7 separate regions of the Homo sapiens genome follow, and regions 1, 2, 3, 4, 5 and 7 are each linked to region 6. The links are contacts of gene promoters, found by promoter capture Hi-C in blood cells and fetal thymus (Javierre and others, 2016). All regions are on one chromosome and are shown on one strand. Each heading gives the region's core, a stretch centred on a gene start or on the middle of the fragment in contact. The rest is flanking DNA. Distances are from core to core; before and after follow the strand shown. Region 1 overlaps PPP4R1-AS1 (PPP4R1 antisense RNA 1). Region 2 has its middle 16 kb from the start of YES1. Region 3 holds the start of RALBP1 (ralA binding protein 1). Region 4 holds the start of YES1 (YES proto-oncogene 1, Src family tyrosine kinase). Region 5 overlaps VAPA (VAMP associated protein A). Region 6 holds the start of ZBTB14 (zinc finger and BTB domain containing 14). Region 7 holds the start of ANKRD12 (ankyrin repeat domain 12).

Region 1 (3,115 bases), core at 194-2,693, 4.3 Mb after region 6:
TTTTTCTGAACAAAATAGTGCATCCTGCTGGAATCACTACTGTAAACTGAGTATAAAGGAAAATAAACCCTCTTTTTCTTATCCACTATGTTCCCTACTCCCGTGCTTTTCCCAGTGCTCCAGGTTAGTAGAGGCAAAAGAATTCCCCACTGATGAGGTACTACATCCTACACAATTTGTTCCACACATTTTAATTTCATTAAGAGAAAACAAAGATGTTTAAACAGTGAGCACTAAATGGATTAGAGTGGCAGTAGTAAATTTCCTTTGTGCCTTTCTCTTAGAATTTAGAAAGCTTTAGTTGCAATCCCATTCAAAGCAATATGGGAGAGGCTTCCACAATGCCTGGCACAGAGTACGTGTGGAGGAAATGCTTATCATTTTAGATGCTTATTATTTTAAATGTTTAAATGTTTATTATTCTGAATCTGAATGGATGAGTCAAGTTGAACCAGGAAATAAACCATAGCAAACCACATATTCAAACCCAGATAAGTTCAGTGGTTAACTGCCCTGACTCTAAGCTCCCTTCACACTAAGGCTGCTCTATGGTAATATGATTCAGAAGAAATTACTTCCATTCTCATTTCACTTCTCTGTAACTGTTTGTAACAAATTGCTTGTGTCTCTGGTCCTTGGTTCCTTCCTTTGGTGGGAAAAATATTAGCACAATGACACAATATAATTCCCAGACTAGATAGCTAATACATTTTCTAACTTTTTATTTAGAAACAATTACAGATTTACATGAAGTTTCAAATGATGTGCCAGGATGTCCTATGTCACTTTCACATCAGTTCCCCCAATGGTAATATTACCGTATATATGAAACATTTTTCAGAGCGTGTGCCAGGCATCATGTTAAGCGCTTTTTCTTTTTTTTTCTTTTTTTCTTTTTTTTTTTTTTTTCTGAGATGGAATCTCGCTCCATCACCCAGGCTGGAGTGCAGTTGCACAATCTCAGCTTGCTGCAATCTCAGCTTGCTGCAACCTCCGCCTCCCGGGTACAAGCGATTCTCCTGTCTCAGCCTCCTGAGTAGCTGGGACTACAGGCGCCCACCACCATACTCAGCTAATTTTTGTATATATATATATATATTTTTTTTTTTTTTTTGTACAGACGGGGTTTCACCATGTTGGCCAGGCTGGTCTCAAACTCCTGACCTCAAGTGATCCACCTGCCTCGGCCCCCCAAAGTGGTGGGATTACAGGTGTGAGCCACCGCGTCCAGCCTGTTAAGCACTTTTATGTGCTTTCTGATTATTTAAAACAGCCCTGTGAAGTAGAAATTGATATTACCATTTTAAAAATAAAGGAAATCGAAGCTCAGAAAGGTTGGGTATTTTGACAAAGATCAAAAAGCAAATGACCTGGCACAGTGGCTCACACCTGTAATCCCAGCACTTTGGGAGGCCGAGGTGGGTGGATCATTTGAGGCCAGGGGTTCGAGACCAGCCTGGCCAACATGGTGAAACCCTGTCTCTACTAAAAATACAAAAGTTAGCTGGGTGTGGTGGCACATGCCTGTAATCCCAGCTACTCGGGAGGCTGAGGCATTAGAATCTCTTGAACCCAGGAGGTGGAGTTTGCAGTGAGCCGAGATCACACCACTGCACTCTGGCCTGGGTGACAGAGTGAGACTGTCTCAAAAAAAAAAAAAAAAAAGAAAAGAAAGAAAGCAAGCAAGCAAGCAAATAGGGGAATTAGTATTCAAACACTGGAATCCTGATTCTAAATAATGGCAATAGCGTTTGCGTATCCTCACATTCATAGCTTTTCTGTCAAAATGGTCCTTCGTCAACTTCTTTCGCATTAAGAGAACTTCTAGTCTTTCAACATGTATGGTCTTGGTATAATCTCTAATTCCATCTAAGTTATCACTGTTCCCTGAGGATTTTGTCATTGAAACATTTTAGGAGTCACCTCTTCACTCCGTTTCTCACTCAATATCCTGACCAAGATATTAACCACTTCAAAACCATACTAATAACTTTTTAACTAGCCTGTTTCAATTATTCTGGCCAAGTATACAAAAATTATCTTTCTCATATAATATTTTGTTCATCACAATTCTGTGAAATTCCCAAGCAAGTGCCTTAACAGTGTCCTCTCACCAGCTGCCCTTGGCTTGAATGGCTGCAGTTTGCCACCATTTCATTATTCGGACAAATCATCCAGGTAGACAATCTTGAACTCAGGTGCCAACTCACTTCTCCCTCAAACGATGTTCTTGGTTTTTTAGGAGGTTTTGTTGTTGCTGCTGCTTGTAGGTATGTGGCAGGTGTTGGGAGGGGTGGAATTCTACATATTTTTTTTTTTTTGAGATGCGGTCTCACTTTGTTGCCCAGGCTAGTCTTGAACTGCTGGGTTCAAGCAATCCTCCCACTTTGGCCTCCCAAAGAGCTGGGATTACAGGTGTGAACCACCATGGCCGGCCGGAATTCTACATCTTTGTAACATTTATTCTTTTCTGAATTTTCCAATTACAAAAATACATGTTTTTGGAGTGCCCAGAAAAGTATAAAGAAAAAACTAAAATCTCCAAAAATTTAGAGATAATACCCCCAAACAGTTTATGTTTACCTATTTTTTAAAGCTTTCAAAGTCCTATATTTAAAAAAGTTTAGCCTAGGCCGGGCGCGGTGGCTCACGCCTGTAATCCCAGCACTTTGGGAGGCTGAGGTGGGCGGATCACGAGGTCAGGAGATTGAAACCACCCTGGCTAACATGGTGAAACCCCGTCTCTACTAAAAATGCAAAAAATTAGCCGGGCGTGATGGCGGGCGCCTGTAGTCCCAGCTACTCGGGAGGCTGAGGCAGGAGAATGGCATTAATCTGGGAGGCGAAGCTTGCAGTGAGCCAAGATCGCGCCACTGCACTCCAGCCTGGGCGACAGTGGGAGACTCCGTCTTGGGGGGAAAAAAGAAAAAAAAGTTTAGCCGGGCGTGGTGGCTCATGCCTGTAATCCCAGCACTTTGGGAGGCTGAGGAGGGTGGATCACCTAAGGTCAGGAGCTTGAGACCATCCTGACCAACATGGTGAAACCCTGTCTCTACTAAATAATAATAAAAAATTAGCCAGGTGTGGTGGCACATGCCTGTAATCTCAGCTACTT
Region 2 (3,302 bases), core at 450-2,949, 4.5 Mb before region 6:
TGTAATCAACCATTTGTGTTTTTTTTTGAGACAGAGTCTCACTCCGTCGCCCAGGCTGGAGTGCAATGGCGCGATCTTGGCTCACTGCAACCTCTGCCTCCCAGGTTCAAGCGATTCTCCTGCCTCAGCCTCCTGAGTAGCTGGGATTACAGGCATGTGCCACCACACCCAGCTAATTTTTGTATTTTTAGTAGAAACAGGGTTTCACCATATTGATCAGGCTGGTCTCGAACTCCTGACCTCATGATCTGCCCACCTCAGCCTCCCAAAGTGCTGGGATTACAGGCGTGAGCCACGATGCCGGGCCTCAACCATTTGTTTTTACTCTATTCAGACATGAATGATGAAATGTTACAGAATCCTTATTTCTTCATTCTCCGTTGCTTTTTGGAAATTTTCTCGGGTGAACATTACCTTCTACAGAGTAACAGAACCAGTAGGATGTAATATACATAGAAAGACACTTATGAGAAGGAATTGGTTCACATGATTATGGCAGCTGAGAAGTCCCAGCATCTGTAGGGTGAGTCAACAGCTATAGACCCAGGAGAGCAGGTAGGGTAGGTCCAGGCAGAGTTTGAAGGCCTGAAAACCAGGAAGCCAATGAAGTCAGGGAAAAAGCCAGTGTCTCACACTGAAGGCAGTCGGGAAGATTTCTTTCTTTCTTTCTTTTTCTTTCTTTCTTTCTTTCTTTCTCTTTCTTTCTTTCTTTCTTTCTTTCGTCTCTCTCTCTCTCTTTCTGTCTCTTTCTTTTCTTTCCTTCCTTCCTTCCCTCCCTCCCTCCCTCCTTCCTTCCTTCCTTCCTTCTCTCTCTCTCTCTCTCTGTCTCCCTCTTTTTTTTTTTTTTTTGACTCGTTTTTTCACCCAGGCTTGAGTGCAGTTGCCTGACCTCACTGCAACCTCTGCCTCCCGGGTTCAAGCAAGTCTCCTGCCTCAGACTCCCGAGTAGCTGAGATTACCAGCACGTGCCACCACCCCTGGCTAATTTTGTGTTTTTGGTAGAGATGGGGTTTCACCATGTTGGCCACGCTGGTCTTGAAATCCTGACCTCAGGTGATCTGCCCACCTTGGCCTCCCAAAGTGCTGGGATTACAGGCGTGAGTCACCGCACCTGGCTAATAGGAAATATTAATGCATTTAATAAATACGGCATACCACTACTACTTCTTTGATTTTATCAGATAAATAGTCTTTCCAAATATTGAGTTGTGATACTCCTGCATTGCAGAAACCATTCACTTACATTTCTGTTTTCTCTTTTTTTTGAGGCAGGGTCTCTGTCATCCAGGCTGGAGTGCAGTGGTGTGATCTCGACTCACTGCAGCCTCGACCTCCCAGGCTCAAGCAATCTTCTCACCTCAGCCTCCTGAACAGCTGGAACTACAGGCGCGTGCCACCATGCCTGGCTAATTTTTATATATATATATATACGTATATATATATATATATATATGTATATATATACATATATATATGGATATATATGTGTGTGTGTGTATATATATATATATATATTTTTTTTTTTTTTTTTTTTTTTGTAGAGGAGTGGTTTCTCCATGTTGCCCAGGCTGGTCTTAGACTCCTGGGCTCAAGTGATCTTCAGGCCTTGGCCTCCCAAAGTGTTGGGATTACAGGCATGAGCCACCACGCCCAGCCTCATTTACATTCCTGTCTTCAATTCCTAGTATAGTGCCTGGTATGTAGTAAGCATGTGATAAAAATTTTAAGAATATTTAGGGCCGGGCGCGGTGGCTCACGCCTGTAGTCCCAGCACTTTGGGAGGCCGAGGCGGGTGGATCATGAGGTCAGGAGATCGAGACCATCCTGGCTAACACGGTGAAACCCCGTCTCTACTAAAAATACAAAAAATTAGCCGGGCGCGATGGCGGGCGCCTGTAGTCCCAGCTACTGGGGAGGCTGAGGCAGGAGAATGGCGTGAACCCGGGAGGCGGAGCTTGCAGTGAGCCGAGATTGCGCCACTGCAGTCCGCAGTCCGGCCTGGGCGACAGAGCGAGACTCCGTCTCAAAAAAAAAAAAAAAAAAAAAAAAAGAATATTTAGTATTGTTGTCTCTGAGAAAAACATAAGTTATGTATCTAAATTCTGTAGCCCTATAAGAAAATCTGTGTGTGTGTGTATATATATATTATATATATATATATATTTTTTTTTTTTTTGAGACGAAGTCTGGCTCTGTTGCCCAGGCTGGAATGCAATGGCGTGATCTAGGCTCACCGCAACCTCCACCTCCCGGCTTCAAGCGATTCTCCTGTCTCAGACTCCCGAGTAGCTGGTATTACAGGCATGCACCACCACGCCTGACTAATTTGGTGTTTTTAGTAGAGATGGGGTTTCTCCATGTTGATCAGGCTGATCTCGAACTCCTGATCCCAGGTGATCCACCCGCCTCAGCCTCCCAAAGTGCTGGGATTACAGACATCAGCCACCACGCCTGGCCGAAAATCTGTATATTTTTAATATACAAAGTTTAAGAACAACTAAGTTTTATTTATGCAAAAATGTTTATTTGATTTGAAATGAAACTTTGGAGAAGTTATAATAGCAGAAGTCAAATGTCTTCTTTTCCTTTGTGTTTCTTAATTATGTTGCCTTTTTAACCTTTCATTCTAAAATAGTTTCTATGAACAACTAAACAAGACATGATGGTTGACTCAATCAATAAAATATACAGTATGTTTGCATCATGACATATTTAGATTTCAGTGGCACAAATATAATATTACGTTATGCCAAATAATACTTTATATTTTTCAAATTATTTTATTATCACATTTGATCCGTATAACAATCTTAAAAGATGAATAGGTAGATGTCACTACCCCCATTTTACAGGCGAGGAAACTGAGGAATGAGAAATGCAAACCAGTATGCCAGTCACCAAGTGTCAGATTAATTACTGAGCTAGAGGCCAAACGAGGTGGCTCAAGCCTGTACTTGCAGCACTTTGGGAGGCCGAGGCAGGCGGACTGCTTGAGCTCAAGAGTTTGAGACCAGCTTGGGCAAGAAAAAGAATTAGCAGGGTGTGGTGGTACATGACTGTAGTCCCAGCTGCTTGGGAGGCTGAGGTGAGAGGCTCGCGTGAGCCCGAGAGGTTGAAGCTGCAGTGAGCTGTGATTCTACCACTGCACTCCAGCCTGGGTGACAGAGCAAGACCCTGTCTCAAGGTGATGAAATGATTAGAATTATCCCAAATCTACTATCCCGAATGGTATAGTTATTTTGTATCATTGTATAATTTTCTCCTGCTACTCATTCCTTCAGGTTCTAAGGGAGAGTAAGTTC
Region 3 (3,033 bases), core at 146-2,645, 4.2 Mb after region 6:
AACTGCTGAGCCGGGGGCGCGCTGAAGCCCTGCAGAAGCCCACACCCGCTTCAGGAATTCCGTGGATGTTCCCGACAGAGGTTTATTCCCGCCTATCCCTACAGGCCCACGGCGCTCTTTCCTCCAATCCCACACCCAGTCGAAGGCGGGGCAGCCGCCCCACCCAGCGGCCAGCCGGGCGGCCCCCAGTCTGGTTTAACTGGTTGGAACGACTAAAGCACGCTGGCGCAAGGAAAGCTCTCAACTTCGGGAGCTGAGGCGCAGGCTGGCCAGAGCGTGGAGAGGAAAGCCCTTTCCATCCTCAAGGCCGTTGCAGGAGATGCCCGCGAGCCACCTTCGCCAGCACCACACCGGGGTAAGCCGTCCGTCCCCGAAACCCGCAAGGCCACCGACTGCGCAGGCGCCTGCAGAGCACTGGCCCTCGGCGCGTTCTCTCGCGCTCTTCTTCAGTCTCCTCAGCGAGCCTGGGGACGAAGGGGGCGCGGTGCCTCCTGGGTGTTGTAGTTTGCTTCCTTGGCGAGAGGCCTTCGGGCTGGCTGGACGCCGGGGCCTTGGGAACTACGCCTCCCAGCGCGCCCCGCGCGAGAGCCCAGGTCGCCTGCCCTTGACGGCTTCAGCCGTCTGAGCGGAGAGGAGGATCCGGGAAGCCGGCTGCGGCGGGAGGAGGGAATGCGCGTGCGCGCTGGACCGCCTCGTCCCGTTCCGTCCCAATCATTGTAAACAGGCAGAGGCTGGGCGGGGTGGGAATGGGGCGCCCGAGGCCGGCCTGGGGCGCAGCGCAGGAGGCGGCTCCGGTGGCTGCGGCGGCAGCGTGAGCGCGAGGAGGCGGAGGCTGCGGCGGGGCGGACGGTCGCGCGGCGGCAGGCACAGGTCAGTCGCAGGGAGCGGTCGCGTGCTAGGGTCGCGGCGATACCCCTGGAGTGCCCGAGGAACCCTCTCCCGCGCCGGCCTCGCGCCCGCGTCTGTCAGGCAGCGTGTGGGGCTCGGTGCTCGCAGCGCTCGGGTTTGAAGTTGGGGGTGGGGGGCGTGGCTGCCCCTGGCGTGGGTTCCTCCCCGGAAAGCTTCGCCCCAGTTTTCGCCCCCCTTGGCCGTGCGTCCCTCCCACTGGCCGACGGGCCTCCCTTCGTGGCGTCCTCGTTTGTGGTGCTCTCGGGGGCCGGGGGTGGAGAGTTAGGAGTCCCCAGGCCTCGGGGAAGCTCTTGGGGGGCGCCTGGACAGAGGCTAGGGGACCCAGCCCTCACGGTTGGTGGATCGTGCCCGGCATAGTGGCCAGGCTCCAGGGCTTACCCAGGGGACCAGGACAGGCTCCTGGTGTCGCCCACCGCTGGCACTGAGCAGTGGGCGCCTTTGGGTGCTGCGATCCTTCCTTCAGGTTTCAGTGGGAATGGACAGACAGATCTGAAGTTGAAAATTCTTTTCACAACTCATGTTCAACTATGTGTGTTGTCAGAATGCTCTTAATGAGGTCAGTGTTCTCCCTCTTTTTTTTAAAACTGATCGTTGTGAGAGTGAAACAGGTTTTACAGAATATTTAACACCTCCGTCTTCCCTGAAGTAATTCTGCTGTTTCAAGTTTTGGGATTCAGTATTACAAAGCCTTCCTCTTGAGCAAGGCCTAGTACAATTCTTCAAGGTCCCTAGCATGTTAATTCGAGGTGTTTTGAACGTGCATATACAGGAAGTGCAGCCGTTTGGCCGTTGAGTTAGTGCTCCATCCAGCCTTGTTAGAAAAGCTTTCGCTGAATTTTTAATTTAGTGGAGTGGTCATGTTCTAATGCTGCAGTACTTTGGGGAGTATTCCATTATACTTGGCAGTTATTAACGAAATACTGAACTTGTGATAAGGTTTTGTTTTGGTGCTCAGCATTTCTAAATGAATAAGTGGGACTGTGAATAAGAAAGATCACCTCACTTTCTGTTTTTAGAGTTATTGTGGTCATTTGATAACTCCTTTCTGTCTTTGTGAAAATAATTACTGTAAGCTGGAGTGGCGGTAGTAGGGGTAGGAAGGAGGTCAGTAGAGTGGTTTCCACCTCTCATTCAAAGTATCTGGTAGATCCAAGTGGGGTAGGTTAGTTAACAGTAGCTTTTTTTTTTTTTTTTTAGTTTTTTATTTTTTGAGACAGAGTTTCGCTCTTGTTGCCCAGGTTGGAGTGCAATGGCATGATCTCAGCTCACCACAGCCTCTGCCTCCTGGGTTCAAACGATTCTGCTGCCTCAGCCTCCTGAGGGGATTACAGGCATGCGCCATCACGCCCGGCTAATTTTATATTTTTAGTAGAGACATTTTCTCCATGTTGGTCAGGCTGGTCTTGAACTCCCGACCTCAGGTGATCTGCCCGCCTAGGCCTCCCAAAGCGCTGGGATTACAGGCGTGTGCCACCGCGCCCTGCCAACAGTAGTAGCTTTTGAGAAGTGACTCTTTAAACAAGGTATCTCGAAACAATGTAATACAACTTAGTTTGCTTTCTCTTCAGGATATTGTTTCTAATTATGGATCTTATCCAGACTATTTCTCCCCTAATTTAGAATAGGAAAGTGGTATCAGAAAGTGCATAATAACTTTAATTTGTACAGTTATATTTGCATAGTTGTTTGCTTGGCAAGAAGAGATCGGGCCCAGCATGTAACCCAAAAGAATATTGTTTCTGTTTTGAAAGATCCCTGATAGAAACTTATGTTAGTTTGTATAAGAGGGTACAAGGAAAAATGCAGATTATTTAGAATACAGGAATTACTATGTAGAAAGTACTGTGACCAGGTGAAGAGGACTTAAAGATACAGAAGGCAGTGTTCCTGCCTTCAGGGTAGTTGAACCTTATCTCTTACTTTAACTGTCAACAAGTACAAGATTGTTTTGATTGAAGAACATATGCGGGTACAGTGGATGTACAAAGGAGATAGTGGTCAGTTTCTTAAAGTGAAGAAAAGAGCTGAAGAAGAGGGAAACTGTAAGGAAAAACTATGTAGAAGGTGATGAAAATCAGGAGTGTACAGGCATAGAAAGAATGGGCATTTAGGTAGAAGGAGCAG
Region 4 (3,100 bases), core at 547-3,046, 4.5 Mb before region 6:
GTAATTTCACTTTCAGATGAACAGAAAGGAATCAATTTTGTGGTTTATGAAGTCAGCAAAACCTAACTACGAAATTAAAGCCATTATAACATTACAGTGGTTACAACAGAGTATATATTTTAAGAGCCCTTTTATCTTTTATCCTGGAAACATGGATATAAACTGTTTTGTTTTCAGATCAAAGGCAATTGTCTTTTTCAAATGTAGGACCCTCTGAATTGTCAACCAGCATTTAAAATCTCCACCGACTTTTAGCTAATGTCCAAAAATAAAAATACAATTTAACTTCCTTTCCTTACATGTCAATTGTGGCAGGGGTCTCACACTTATAAGCAAACAAACAAAAACCAAAAAACCATATATATTATTTGCTAAAGTAAAACTTTCTTACTGTACAATATATGAACATCGTAAGTGATGCATACAAGATCCTTGGCTAATACAAGATACTCCTTTATTACCTGACCATTCAAAATGCTTCCTGTCCACCGTGTGCCAAGCACTGTGATAGTTAAGATATTAGATTTACCATGCACTTTTCCTTAAATGCACAGTCACGTGTATACATTTAGTAATACTTTCCTTAGTGCGTAATTTAACTTTAGAAGTGTAACAGGATGGTTTAAATATTTAAAATTATCAAGGTATCTTTGGCACTGTAATCTTACAGTTATAATACATGAAGATACTATAATCATATCATGTGAAATCGACTGTGAAAACACACACCCGTGGAACGTATATACATAATAAATGGACATAAAATTGTGCTTCCACCAAAGACTTTCATTATTTCCTTTAGTAATTTATAATTATACAGTATGTTATTCCACGCCTGTATCAATTAATTATGCAGAAAATGATTCAACCAAATCCGAACTGTTAAGTCCTACTCATTACAAAACAAAAACTAAAGTCCCTACACCAGACTTGATTTTCAAAGAGCTTCTTAAAACAGCTCTGCCCCATGCCCAATAAAGTGAAAGCTGGAAGCAATTATCAAGAAGAAAAACACACTTTAAGACAATTTTCTTTAACACATGTGGACAGGGAACCGAACGCAACGGGAGGCGGAGTGGCATGATTCCGTAAAAGTGGACGCTGAATGGTAAATTTCCCAACCCCCAACCCAAAACAAAGGAAAACTTTAAACATGTTGCGGTTTTCAATCAAACCAAGTAAAGCCAGAAAGGCTCATCCACTCGCCCCACACACCCGCTCCTCTCCCCGCACAGCTGCTACCGGCGTCGGCCGATACACAGACCCCCAGCCTTTAGGACCCAAAGGGGCCGCTTCCCTCGCCCCTACTTCGGCCGTAGGGGCAAAAATAAACCTCTCCTCCCCGTCGCCGGGCGGTCCACACGACCCCAAAGACAAGGGGTGGGGAGTGTCCCCACGCCCCTGGAACCTCAGGTCGGACTTGGGCGGGACCCGGCAGGTCTGGACAGGGCAGAGACCGAGTCAGGGGCGAGCAGGTAGCGCGGGGAACGAGACAAGCCCGCCGGGCGATCCGGGGGAGGGGAGAAGTTTCTTCCCAACTTCCCGACTCGGGCCCGCGGGGGCGGGGAACCGCGGCGGCGGCGGCGGCGGCGGCTCCGGGCGCTGGGGCCTAGCCCTGTCCGGGCAGAGGTGGAACCCTCCGCCCGCGGGGCCCCACCGGGTCCTTACCTGTCCTCCGGCCGCGCTCTCATGAGTCGCTGCTACCGCAGCTCGAGGTGGCGGAGGGCGGAGGCGAGGCCCGCGGGCCCTCTCCCTCCTCCACCTCCTCGTCCCGGGGCGCCCGGCGGCAGCAACGACGGCAGAGCCGGCCCGGGACGCGTTACTTCAGGAGGAGGGAGTTCCCGGGCTCCCCACGCCTCGGCCTCACTCTCCACCTCCTCCGCCCCCCCCCCCCGGCCCCGCCCCCTGACTTCTAGCGGGGGCGGGGGCTGCGGGTACCTGCGCGCGCCGCCGTCCGCTCACCGGAACTCGGGCCACGCCGGCCCGGCTCCGGGGCCCCCAGCCTTCCGGCGCCTACGCCCCCGTCAGGTCCCCTCCGCGGGCTCCGGGCCGCTTTGCTGTGGTCAGGATAGGCGACCGGTCCGTGTCACTTCTCCCGACCCAACATGGCGGCGGGGTCCGGGGCGGATTCCCGGGGGCGGTGCAGGCCGAGGGGGCGTGAGGAGGAGGTGCTTCCCTGCCCGGAGAGCAGGCCCGCGGCGTCCCTTCCCACCCGCGAACCCACCGACGCTCGGCTGCCGCGGAGATTGAATGGAGCGCTCCGATTCTGCCCCTCTGCCTTTCTCTGTTCCTTGGCCCAGCTCTCAGTAGTGGCCAGGGCTTTGGGGCTTGCTTTTGTGGGGGAGGACGGGGTTGAGTTTTTTTGGTTGGCTGTTTGCTTCTCAGCGCTACGCTTCCGCACCCTTTGTCGTTGGTAGTAAAATCTCAAGCCCAACCGCGTGAGCCGGGGGCGTTACTCACACCCTCATCACCATCCTGATCGCCGTCCAAAAAACGTTCACGTCTTGCCTCCTTCCGAGGCAGGGATCCTGTCCCTGCCCCCAGGAGCTTCCTGTTGACTGTAGGTCGAACCAGCCTTGCCGGGAGGGGAACCGAAGCTGAGTTCTGTTTGGCGACTATCCCAGTCATGGTGGCTTTGGCTTATGTTGGGACAGCGTTTTTCTATATGATGCTGGCGGCAGCCCAGTGAGGGAAGTGCAACAAGTATGGTTCTCCTGCTTGTCAACTGTGGAAACAGCGACCCTGAAAGTGGAGGAGCCACAGCTGGAATCGTGTCCGTCTGAATACACGCACCTTTCCTATGAGCCTTGTAAAGCCAGTCGTTGAAGAAGGGGGAGGACCCGGAAGGATGGGGTGGGGGCGTAAAGATGAAGGTTAATCAAGGTCCTCATGGACTGAACCTTGAGGCCCTTCTGCTGCAGTCACTTTTGCCCTATCAGACTTTTAGAGTAACTTCCTCTCTTTATTTCCTCTTTGGTGGGGTTATCAGAATTATTTTGTGACTATTGGTTTCCTTTGCGGTTTTTAGTGAAATTCAGAATCATCTTCGACGGATAGGAAATAGTGCAATCATATGTGTCAGTATTCCGGTATTCTAGGA
Region 5 (3,099 bases), core at 445-2,944, 4.6 Mb after region 6:
GTTCAACACTGAGGAGATTCATTTAGAATGTACAGTCTACTTGGGCTTAGTTTATGATAGAAAAAAATCATTTAACTGACTTACCCTAAGTCATTCAAAACTTTCTAAGTGAAGGACTTTTAGAAGACAGTTTTGCAAAATTCTTTGTCATCTTCTAGTAGGTTTATTTTAGTTATTGATTCTGAGTTTGAGATGGTTTCTCCAGGAGTGACTCAGGTAATCATTCTGAGATTGGATGGTTTTTCTTTTATACACCTAACAAGCATCTTGAAGATGAATTAACAGTATGTTGCACAATTTTGCAAAAGCAGACACCAACTATTTCAGTACATTTTTCTGTATACCTCAGTATTTAAAAAAAAGTTTGTTTTATACAGTCGTTAACATATAAAAGTGCATTTACGATGTAATGAATTCTGAAGTAGATCACTTGTGTTAGTAAAGAAAAAGAAGTAGACGCTGCTTTACTTCAAATTCTGTTTAAACCTTGGAAGTAATTTTACCTAGATTTCAGATTTGAAACTTGGTATTTTATGTGAAAGATTTTTTTTGTCTTTAAAATTTTTTACATGATAAAATTCCATTTATAATGTATTACACATTTTATTTTTCTACCTATTAGCAGTTTTTTTAAATTTTTTTATTTTTTGAGACGGAGTCTTGCTCTGTTGCAGTGGCTCGATCTCGGCTCATTGCAGTCTCTGCCTCCCGGGTTCAAGCAATTCTCCTGCCTCAGTCTCCAGAGTAGCTGGAACTACAGGCATGCACTACCATGCCCAGCTAATTTTGAATTTTTTGTAGAGACGGGATTTTGCCAGGCTGGCCTCGAACTTCTGACCTCAGGTGATCCGCCTGCCTTGGCCTCCCAAAGTGCTGGGATTACAGGCGTGAGCCACCGCACCTGACCCCTATTAGCAGTTTTGTAGAAAAGTTTGAAGAAGAAAGTTTATAAAATGCTAAAATAAATTTCAAATATATTCTTAATGATCAGAGAGAGACGAAAATAAACCAAAATCCTTATGTTGAGAGTGGCCGATAACAATAAATCAACAAAGAAAATTAAGCTCTCTGAGGGATCGAGGGACGTATGGTGTTAACATCAGCTAGTGCATCTGCATAGAAGCAGCACGGGGCGGGGGGGAAATTAGAGAATACTCCTCTGGATGGATATTTAGCACATTTTTAGGTGTTTCCAGTCGGCTCTTCATGTTTCCCAGTGGCTATACAAAACGCCTGGGGCTCTAAAGACATGAATGTAATCTTTAATCATATATTACTCCATTCCTTAGTTTTTAGGTAACTCTCAATTGCTCACAGAATAAAAGTCAGATTTTTTTTTTTCAGTAAGACATACCATCTCTTCCATGATGTGCCTTCCTCTTGTAACACCTGTTAGTCTGTACACATCCATACTTTCTTCCCTGAGAAAGAAAAACCCTGCTCATACCCAAGGTTCTTTGTTCCTCTATTTTTGCTGGCTAAGGTAAAATTCCTTATGACTCAGACCATGTTCCATGAGATGTTTTCCTGCTGGTTTTCAATCACTGGCTGCATTGTTTTAACATATAAATACACCAGAGTCTTTGATTTTAAAAACAAATGAGCAGACATGTACTTCTTTGACCATAACTCTTTCTAGTATGTGTCTCTCCCTGTCCTTCATTTCCTTTGCATTCAGACTTTTTGGAAAAATAGTCCATATTCACTGTTTTTCCAGTTACTCACCTTTTATTCTCTCCTTAGTCCACGGTACTTTTATCCTCTCACTACTTATTGCTAACTTAATCATTTCCAGTTTTTATCTTACTTGACCTCCCCCTGGCTCTTGACAGTACCGACAGTTTCTCTAAAAAAAACCCTCAATTCTTCTGGCTTCTATAACAGCATTGTCTTCTAATTTTCTTATTTGCTCCATTTATTGTCTTATTTGTGGCATTTTCCTCAAATGCTCATGTTTCTGAGATTCTGATTTGGTTTCATTTATCTCACTCTGTGAACTTTCTTTGTTCATTTCATTGTTTTGAGGTTTTCTCTTTATCTTCCTTGCTCTCTGCAGGTATTGCTACACCCCCAAGTCTGTTTTAATTCACATTTTACCGTCAGTCAAGAGCACATACTCAAACAACTTATTCACTATTTAGATTTGAATATTGCACAGATATGATATTCTAAACTCAAAATATCTCAAAATTTTTACTACCCATGCCTACTCTTCTTCCCATATTTTTTATTTTTATTTTTGAGATGGGGTCTTGCTCAGTTGCTCAACCTGGAGTGCAGTGGCATGCACGTTCTTGGCTCACTGCAGCCGTGACCTCCTGGGCTCAAGTGATCCTCCTGAATAGCTAGGACTATAGGTGCATGCTACCATGCCCAGCTAATTTTTTACGTACATATGGGGGTGCCGCTGTGTTGCCCAGGCTGATCTCGAACTCCTGACCTTGCGTGATCCTCCTGCCTTGGCCTCCTAAAGTGCTGGGATTACAGGCCTGAGCCATTGCACTTGGCTTTATTTTTATTTTTTAGTGGCATCATGATTACTCACACCAGAAACAATATGCATATCTAATAATTAAAATCTGTGTTTCTATTTTTGACATAATCCCTTTGTCCACTTCAATGTGTTTCTACTTCCAAATTCATTTATTTTTAAAATTCATTCAATTATGGATCTAATTTGATTAGATTTGAGTATCTGCTACATGTCAGGTATGATGAATAAATATTGGAACTACAGTTGTGAGTGAAACACAAGCCATGTTTTCATGGGGCAGTTCTAACAAGAGAGATAGATACTAATAAAATAATCAGAAGAATAAAGTGTACCCCTGAAGAGCTATATAGTGCTACGAGAATGTAAAATAAGGGTCTTCGATCAGGCTGTCACAGTTGAACTAAGATTCCAACAATGAGTAAAAGTTATCCTGGTGAAGAAGAAAGGAAAATGCATGTTCAAATATCCGGTAGCAGGAGGGACTGTGAAACATTTACCATACTGAAAGAGGTCGGCGTGGCAGTGGTGAAAATAGTCAAGATGAATGTAGTGCTGGTTTAGTAGGTCAAGTTAGGAGTTTTGTTTTTATCCTGAGCCACTAGGGT
Region 6 (3,296 bases), core at 223-2,722:
TGACTTGATCATTCTACGTGTTTCTGCCTCTCTATTCCCTAGAAGCACCCAGGCCTGTAATCATCCAGAGGCTAGGCAGCCCAGCAAAAACCTTACACTGTGACACTTACTACTGTTGTCACTAACTCGTCCTAGGGCTTGTGGGATAAAAGTGCATGGGACCAGAGAGAGGAGTGGCCTTAGACTAGCTATGACAACATATCAATGTGTTGTTGTTGTTTTGGCTAGTGTGTACTTGGCCACTCGCCCCTCTCCCCTCTCTCTCTCAAGATGTATGAGACCTGGAAGAGAGACCATGTGTGTCCAAAGCCGCCTCCTCCCCGCCCCGCCCCCCTTGCCATTGAGATGTCCAATTGCTCAGTTCAGGTGAGTCAAAACTGGAAGACAGCTGTTGCCAGCATCTGTGTAGGCAGGTGTAGGAAAAGACGTAGCCCCAACACCACCTTCATAATAAGGCTGCCCCTTCCTAATTGCTCTCCAAACTGCGGGCGCGCTAAGCCGCGTTACAGTGCAGGGAGCCGGGCTTCCCGCAAAGCCAAAAACTTACATAAGCAGCTGCAGCCGCCTCCCCTGCCCCGGGCAGCCCGACAATGGCGGCTGCACGACTTCCTTGTTGCAAGCTTGCAACTTCGGAGTCGGGAGGAAGCAGGGAGCCAAGCGCAGACCCAAGAAGCCCTCAAGGCGTATCGAGTCCTCCCTCTCAATTTCTTTGGGCCTGGGAGGTGGGGAGTGGAGGAGGCCGTTTGCACTCCTTCCCAGACAAAAGCTCCCAGCCTGGGAGCCAGGTGGTGAAAGGGCCACTTTCCCTTTCATAATCAGACGTCGAGCGCAGGCTTGGGACCGCGGCTCGGAGCGCGCAGGGAGGGACTGCGGCCCGCGGCGGCCCCGGCGGCGCGACGAGCGGGAGCGGGCGTGCGGCCGGCTCCGCAGCCCCGCGCCGCGCCGCGCCCCGCTCCGCCCGCGAGCCCGGAGCTCGCGCCCCGCGCACTCCCCGGCCAGCTCGCGCCGGGCCCTCCCCCGCCCTCCCGCGGCCGGGGGCGGGGGCGGCGCGCGGCCGGCTAACCCAAGCTCCGCGGGCGCACCCGGGAGTGCGTGCGCTGGGTCCCGGCCCCCTCCTCCGCCGGCGGCTGTAGGCGGCGCGGCGGGGCCCGCGGCTCGGAGGGGCGGCGCCCGGCGGGCCGCGCTCCGCGCTGGGTTCGGGCCGTCCCCACCCCCACCGCGGTGCACTGCGGCGGTGCGAGCGGGGGCGGCCATGAACTCGGCCGCCGAGGCTCTGCGAGCGCGCGCGCGGGGCCGCCGCCGCCTGGCCGCTCCCCGAGCCCGCTCGCCGGCCCGCGCGGCCCCCGGGGCGCCCCGGCCCCACGCCCAACCCTGGCCCACGCCCGTCCCCGCTCGCACCGCGCCGCGCCGCTGGCGGCCGCCGCACATCCTGGAGCTGGCTGGTGCCCCAGAGCTCGGCGAGAACGCGCGTCTTCCGGGCCGCCCCGCCAGCCGCCGGCCGCCCCCGCGCCCGCCTTGCGGACGGCCCCAGCCCCTTCCGCACCCTGGCCCGCGCTTACCTGCAGCCTGGCACAGGCACAGACACTGCCGTGGGTTCCCCGCGCTCGCTAGCAAACGCAGGCCGGGACCGGAGGGGCTCGGGGCGCGGGGGCACGGTGGGTGGCAGTGTGTTTTGGATTTTTTTTTGGAGTTTGGGGAGGGGGCGGGGTGGGGGAAATCGTGCACGTCCCTGATGGTAGCAGCCCTCCTCCTGCACGAGCACAGAATGTCTAGCCGGCCGTGAACACCCCCACCGCCCCCCCCTTCCCGTGCATGCGCGGTGCGGGCTGGGGGGAAGGCGCGCCGCCGGCTTGCGCAGGCACGGAACCCGACCGGGTCTCTAAGTGGGCGAGCAAAGAAAGGGTTAATCCGGGCCCTTGCCGACGCTTTCGTTGGAGACTACGGGGCCGCCCCCGGAGGGCCCTGGCCTGCGCACGCGCGCGCACGCGCGCGGCTTGGGGCGCGCGGAGCCCGCGCGCGGGAGAAGGAGTGGGCGGGGCAAGGGCGGGGCTTCGGGAGCCAGGGAACTTAAGCACGAGCGCTGCTCGCGGACACCCGCCCCGCCTCAAGCTCCCTCCCGCCCTGGTTCGTGGGCTTCCGCCCGCGCCCGGCGCCGGCGCAGCGCCGGGGACGCGGGAGCCAGCGCTCCCGTGCGTGTGCATGTGCGTGGGCCAGAGCCTCCCCCGGGCGCGCGCAGGCCGGGCGCTGAGGCTGCGGGGCTCTGCCGCGTCTCGGAGCGGGCGCCCCGGCCACTTTCGCCCTCCGCGCACACCGGCCGACACCGGGAGGCGCGCCCACGGGTCTGCGGTCTTGCCTCTTGCCGCCGGCACATTGAGTTTGTGGGGGAGTGGACGGTGCACAATAAACACTTGCAGAACAAATGGAAAAAGCGACGTCTTCGATTTGTAGTGTAAAGCGCAACCCCAGTTGCCCAGCAGAAAGGGATCACCCATAGGGCTTCGGAGCTAGTAGGTCCGCGCCCGGACACTCCAAGGAAAAGTCCAGGGGCTGGAGGCGGCGACCCGTCTGTGGCAGTCCAGACCCTGGACTCGATTCGGAGAGCTCTGATAACTTGGCTCTGTCCTTAACATCCCTGCTCAGCGCCAGTAATGGCTCCGTTGCTGTTGAACCACGTCGCCTTCCCTCTGACGCGGCGGCTGTGCCTGTGTCTGGCGTCGGGAGCTGGGAAGTCCCTCCCGCTCCCGCGTTTTCTGCTCACCGAGATGCAGGAGGCCGGACAGCAATGCCGCGCCGCCTTAGAGTCGCTCATGTTGCTTTACCTCACACGCGAAGTTTCCCCGAAACGCGTAATTTAATATCTAAAGATTAGAGCAGAAGCTTCCTCTTGGGCTTATTGAAGATGACATAAGATAGTGCTTGCAACAGGCACCTAAGTAAACATTTGGGAAATAATATGATGATTGGATGTGTTAATTTTCTAAAGGAAGTTCTATATGGCCTCAGTTGATTTTGTAATGTTAATTGACTTTGGTTTAACGTTCCCCAAGGCGACTTTATACGCATCTTTTTTGATGTTCACAAAAGCACCCAAGTTACGGCTTATATGGAGGAAATAGGATGGAAGAGACCGGTTGTAGAGTCAGACATATCCAGTTCACATATTGGGTAAATTGTTTAACTTCTCTAAACCTCAGCTGAAGGAGAGCTATGGAAAGCACCTAATAAGGCACTTGTAAGGATTAAGTGAAATAATGCCCAGCTAAGGTATTAGCTCCATGATGGAAAATCACCTGCAC
Region 7 (3,307 bases), core at 170-2,669, 3.8 Mb after region 6:
CTGGGCTCAAGCCATCTGCCCGCCTGAGCCTCCCAAATTGCTGGGATTACAGGCGTGAGCCACTGCGCTCGGCTATAACGATTATTTTTAAGTATGTCTTTAAGATTTTTTTTTTAATTGAGAGAAGGTAAACAACAGTTAATTTTCCAAGTGGCACAAAAAAGTAACAATGAAAATGTCCTACCCTGGAGCTCTCCTGACTTTCTCATAGGCGACTGTTTTTTTCTTTGTATTTCACATCATAAATAACCAAGTTAAATGTAACACTATTCCACCTCTAGCCATAAGGTGCTCTTTTTCTAGTCTTGTTGACCCTAAAGATTTGTAGGTGGGAGAAATCAGGAACCCAGGAAAGGAAAAACTCCTGATCTTTAATGCAGGTTTATGCTTTACATAGTAATTTGATGGGACCTCGCCGTCCCTGTCAGGTCTGAATGTCACTTCATCTGCTGTGATCACACCTGAACCCTCAGTTCATCAAGACGTTAAAGGACAGTGTAACATAAACTTGTAACTGCATGCACTAAGTCATAAACAGACGCTGTTGTTGCAGATTAACCTCTACGTAAATAACGCGCCCAGAAGGGAGTGAGTACACGCTGCTGCCACGCTGCGACGGTCAATTTTCCTCCGGCACCCTTCCTAGTACCTGAGCAGCTCCCTCTCAAATCCCCAACACTACGTGTGGGAGGGTGCACTGAATTCCTCTTTAAAAAGGCCACTGGAAGGCGTGGCTGGGAGGGGACGCGCTCTAGACCCCCTGGTGCCAGGGCAGGTGCACGCTACCGCGCTTTCGGGGCGGGGCCCAGGGCCCCACCTGAGGCGGGGGGCCGCGGGCTCTGGGCGTAGGTGCAGCTTCTCCGGCCTGGTGCGGGGCCAGACGGCCGCCGCCGGCTTAGCGGGGGAACTTCGCCTAGTCCTCGGGCTGCGGTCGCAGCGTCATTTTGCCTGAGTTGGATCACGCTCGTCCACCCACCCCGTGTAAAAATAACAGGTGAATACCCTATGTGGGGGTCCTCATCGCCGCCATTTCCAGAAGCTTCCAGTCACAGCCACTGCCACGGTCGCCACAAATGCTACTGCAGAGCCCGCTTGCCCAGCAGCGTCACCGGCGCCTGCCCTGCCTCTTCGCCCAGCCTTTGATTCCCCCTCCTTTGTCGGATAGTGTCTGCGGCGGGGAGGCGGTGACACTAGTCCGAGTGGGGCGTGGAGACCGACCAGCACGAAGGGCGGAGTTCCGGCCCGCACCCCTCCGCCGCCTGCCGCTTGGTACGTCCCGCTTCCCCGCCCTGCGGCTCGCGGAGCCTGGCTGAGCAGCAGGAGGGGCGGGCGCCGGGGGGCGGGGCGGTCACGCCGCCCGTCCCGTGCCCGCGGTAGTCACGTGTCCGCGGGTGTCACGTGCTCGCGTCGCAGCCAATCGCGGGGCGACGCTGTCCTGGGAGCGAGGAGGCTGTGGTGAGAGACGGACCGAGACCGGAGATGTTTTCAAGCCCGGCTCCGGCGGCTTTACAGGCGGCTGCAGCGGCGACGAAGACAACGACAGCGACGGCTACGCCGAAGCACTCGTTCCGGGGGTGAAGCCTCCTGCGCCGGCCTTGCCTCGGGTCCGTACGGGTGAGGGGGGCGTGGCGACAGGAAAGGAGGAAGGAGGGGCGCGGTTTCGAGCTTGTCCCCGGCGCCAGGGAGGAGATCCCCTCAGTTCTGCGCTGCTCCCGTTCCCCCTCCCCAGAGCAAGGTAGGGGACGCGCCCTGCCCGCCCCCCCCGGTCCCGACGCGCCGCCCGCCCAGCCTGGCCCGAGCCGTAGCTCGCCTGACAGTGACAGGCCGTTAGTGCCCCCCGGCGCGGGTCCGCCGGGGCCCCGCCCGCCGCCGCCCCTCCCGGCGTCGCGAGGAGCCGCGGCGCAGGTGGGAGCCGCCAACTGGGCGGGGGCGCTGCGCGGGGCGGGGCGGGGGCCGGGCGGAGGGCCGCGAGCTGGCCTCGTCGCGGGCGCCCCTCACCGCGGCTGGCGGGGCTGGGCTGCCGCCGCCTCCCGGAACATGGCGGGGCCGGAGGAGCGTGTGCGTGCGAGTGTGAGTGTGCGCGGCCGAGAGGGCGCCGCTGGCGTGCGGCGGTCGGACCCGCGGGGGCGGGGGCGCGCCCGGCCCGCCGCGCGTTCCCGCCGCCAGCCGCCGAGCGTGCGCCGACGCCGGGGAGTCTGCCGCGGCCGCTCGGGCCGGGAGCGTCGGAGGTACCCGGGTCCTGGGAGAGGTGGATGAAATCAAGAAGGGGAAATTGCTGCTTTAGTAGTGTCCGGGGAAAGAGCAGCCACTCTACAGTTCTGTCTTAAATGCCAGTGTAAAATAACCTTGCCGCATTGGACAGGCAGTTCCCGTCATCGTTTTTCAAGTACCCACTTGTGATGCTTCAAGACCCCTGGAGCACGTCAGGTTCTTAGATCTCGTTTTGAGGAGTGATGTGGAGTGACGCATCCTTACAGATCCCAAAGCGTTGAATAAACGGTTGTACAAAGAGGTATGCGAAGCTTAGCTGACAGCTGTTTTAGTAATAACAGTAAGACGCTGTCTGGGATAGGAAGTTACTGTTGCACTCGTTGAAACCTTAGGAAACATTTAAAGCAGTGTAGTCACCGGGATTGTAATTTCCACTGGACACCCGTGGTTAAACTGCGAACTAAGGTGAAGTGTGTTGCAGATCCAGTGCTGTGTATGTAATGGTTCGGAATTACCTCTAATCCTAAAGTTGAAATGAGCCTGCATCTGCAGTCATGTATTTCGTTTTCATTTTAGAATGGTTTATGTAAATTATAAAGAAAGGCTAGTGAAATAGCTATTTTATCGTAAATTAACTGTGTATTAAAAACATATGCACAGCCGGGCGCGGTGGCTCATGCCTATAATCCCAGCACTTTGGGAGGCCGACGTGGGTAGATCACCTGAGGTCAGGAGTTCGAGACCAGCCTGACCAATATAGTGAAACCCCCGTCTCTACTAAATATACAAAATTAGCCAGGCGTGGTGGCGCATGTCTGTAATCCCAGCTACTTGGGAAGCCGAGGCAGGGGAATCGCTTGAACCCGGGCGGCAGAGGTTGCAGTGAGCCGAGATCGTGCCACTGCACTCCAGCCTGGGCCACAAGAGCGAAACTCCGTCGCAAAAACATACCAAAACAAACAAACAAACAAACAAAAAAACATATGCTCAAGTAGGCCGTTAAAAATCTTGGGCACTGATCTGAGTTTCTTTAATCGTTATACAAAGCCTTTCCTGGAGATTAGCTCAGAACTGGCAGAACATATGCTCTATTGGT

The links. Contacts are between HindIII fragments. The CHiCAGO score rates a contact against its expected background, and 5 or more counts as called.
Region 1: a fragment that was not itself captured here is called in contact with the fragment with the promoter of ZBTB14 in region 6 in 1 of 17 cell types (total CD8 T cells); the score reaches 5.1 in total CD8 T cells.
Region 2: a contact is called between a fragment that was not itself captured here and the fragment with the promoter of ZBTB14 in region 6, in 1 of 17 cell types (activated CD4 T cells). The highest score is 5.5, in activated CD4 T cells.
Region 3: a fragment that was not itself captured here is called in contact with the fragment with the promoter of ZBTB14 in region 6 in 1 of 17 cell types (non-activated CD4 T cells); the score reaches 5.4 in non-activated CD4 T cells.
Region 4: a contact is called between the fragment with the promoter of YES1 here and the fragment with the promoter of ZBTB14 in region 6, in 1 of 17 cell types (naive CD8 T cells). The highest score is 6.6, in naive CD8 T cells.
Region 5: a fragment that was not itself captured here is called in contact with the fragment with the promoter of ZBTB14 in region 6 in 1 of 17 cell types (naive CD4 T cells); the score reaches 5.2 in naive CD4 T cells.
Region 7: a contact is called between the fragment with the promoter of ANKRD12 here and the fragment with the promoter of ZBTB14 in region 6, in 4 of 17 cell types (non-activated CD4 T cells, naive CD4 T cells, total CD8 T cells and 1 more). The highest score is 12.6, in non-activated CD4 T cells.

What each region holds. Positions count from the first base shown.
Region 1 is chr18:9,619,281-9,622,395 of GRCh38, forward strand. PPP4R1-AS1 (PPP4R1 antisense RNA 1) reads left to right here. Exons shown (of 3, transcript NR_110773.1): 3 at 1-83. Among named protein-coding and RNA genes, the nearest start is that of PPP4R1-AS1, 6.0 kb to the left of the region's middle. The HindIII fragment of the contact is 2,301 bases long and covers 294-2,594 here.
Region 2 is chr18:826,747-830,048 of GRCh38, forward strand. No RefSeq gene overlaps it. Among named protein-coding and RNA genes, the nearest start is that of YES1, 16 kb to the left of the region's middle. The HindIII fragment of the contact is 4,537 bases long and covers 1-3,302 here.
Region 3 is chr18:9,474,822-9,477,854 of GRCh38, forward strand. RALBP1 (ralA binding protein 1) reads left to right here and starts at 692. Exons shown (of 10, transcript NM_006788.4): 1 at 692-870. RefSeq lists a silencer at 623-1,032 and enhancers at 656-1,524, 1,263-1,322. The HindIII fragment of the contact is 672 bases long and covers 1,060-1,731 here.
Region 4 is chr18:810,446-813,545 of GRCh38, forward strand. YES1 (YES proto-oncogene 1, Src family tyrosine kinase) reads right to left here and starts at 1,797. Exons shown (of 12, transcript NM_005433.4): 1 at 1,669-1,797. RefSeq lists silencers at 1,404-1,493, 1,564-1,623, 1,674-2,183 and enhancers at 1,915-2,457, 2,458-2,999. The HindIII fragment of the contact is 10,737 bases long and covers 1-3,100 here.
Region 5 is chr18:9,916,674-9,919,772 of GRCh38, forward strand. The region is part of intron 1 of VAPA (VAMP associated protein A); the gene reads left to right. Among named protein-coding and RNA genes, the nearest start is that of VAPA, 4.2 kb to the left of the region's middle. The HindIII fragment of the contact is 5,213 bases long and covers 1-3,099 here.
Region 6 is chr18:5,294,254-5,297,549 of GRCh38, forward strand. ZBTB14 (zinc finger and BTB domain containing 14) reads right to left here and starts at 1,473. Exons shown (of 4, transcript NM_001243702.2): 1 at 1,399-1,473. RefSeq lists enhancers at 56-743, 744-1,430, 2,119-2,804, 2,522-2,681 and silencers at 872-1,811, 1,892-2,311. The HindIII fragment of the contact is 2,257 bases long and covers 619-2,875 here.
Region 7 is chr18:9,135,362-9,138,668 of GRCh38, forward strand. ANKRD12 (ankyrin repeat domain 12) reads left to right here and starts at 1,420. Exons shown (of 13, transcript NM_015208.5): 1 at 1,420-1,604. It overlaps NDUFV2-AS1 (NDUFV2 antisense RNA 1), which reads right to left and starts at 1,359. Exons shown (of 3, transcript NR_110772.1): 1 at 1,003-1,359. RefSeq lists silencers at 522-695, 698-787, 1,138-1,487, 1,698-2,097, 2,138-2,187 and enhancers at 978-1,027, 1,518-1,567. The HindIII fragment of the contact is 1,483 bases long and covers 1,038-2,520 here.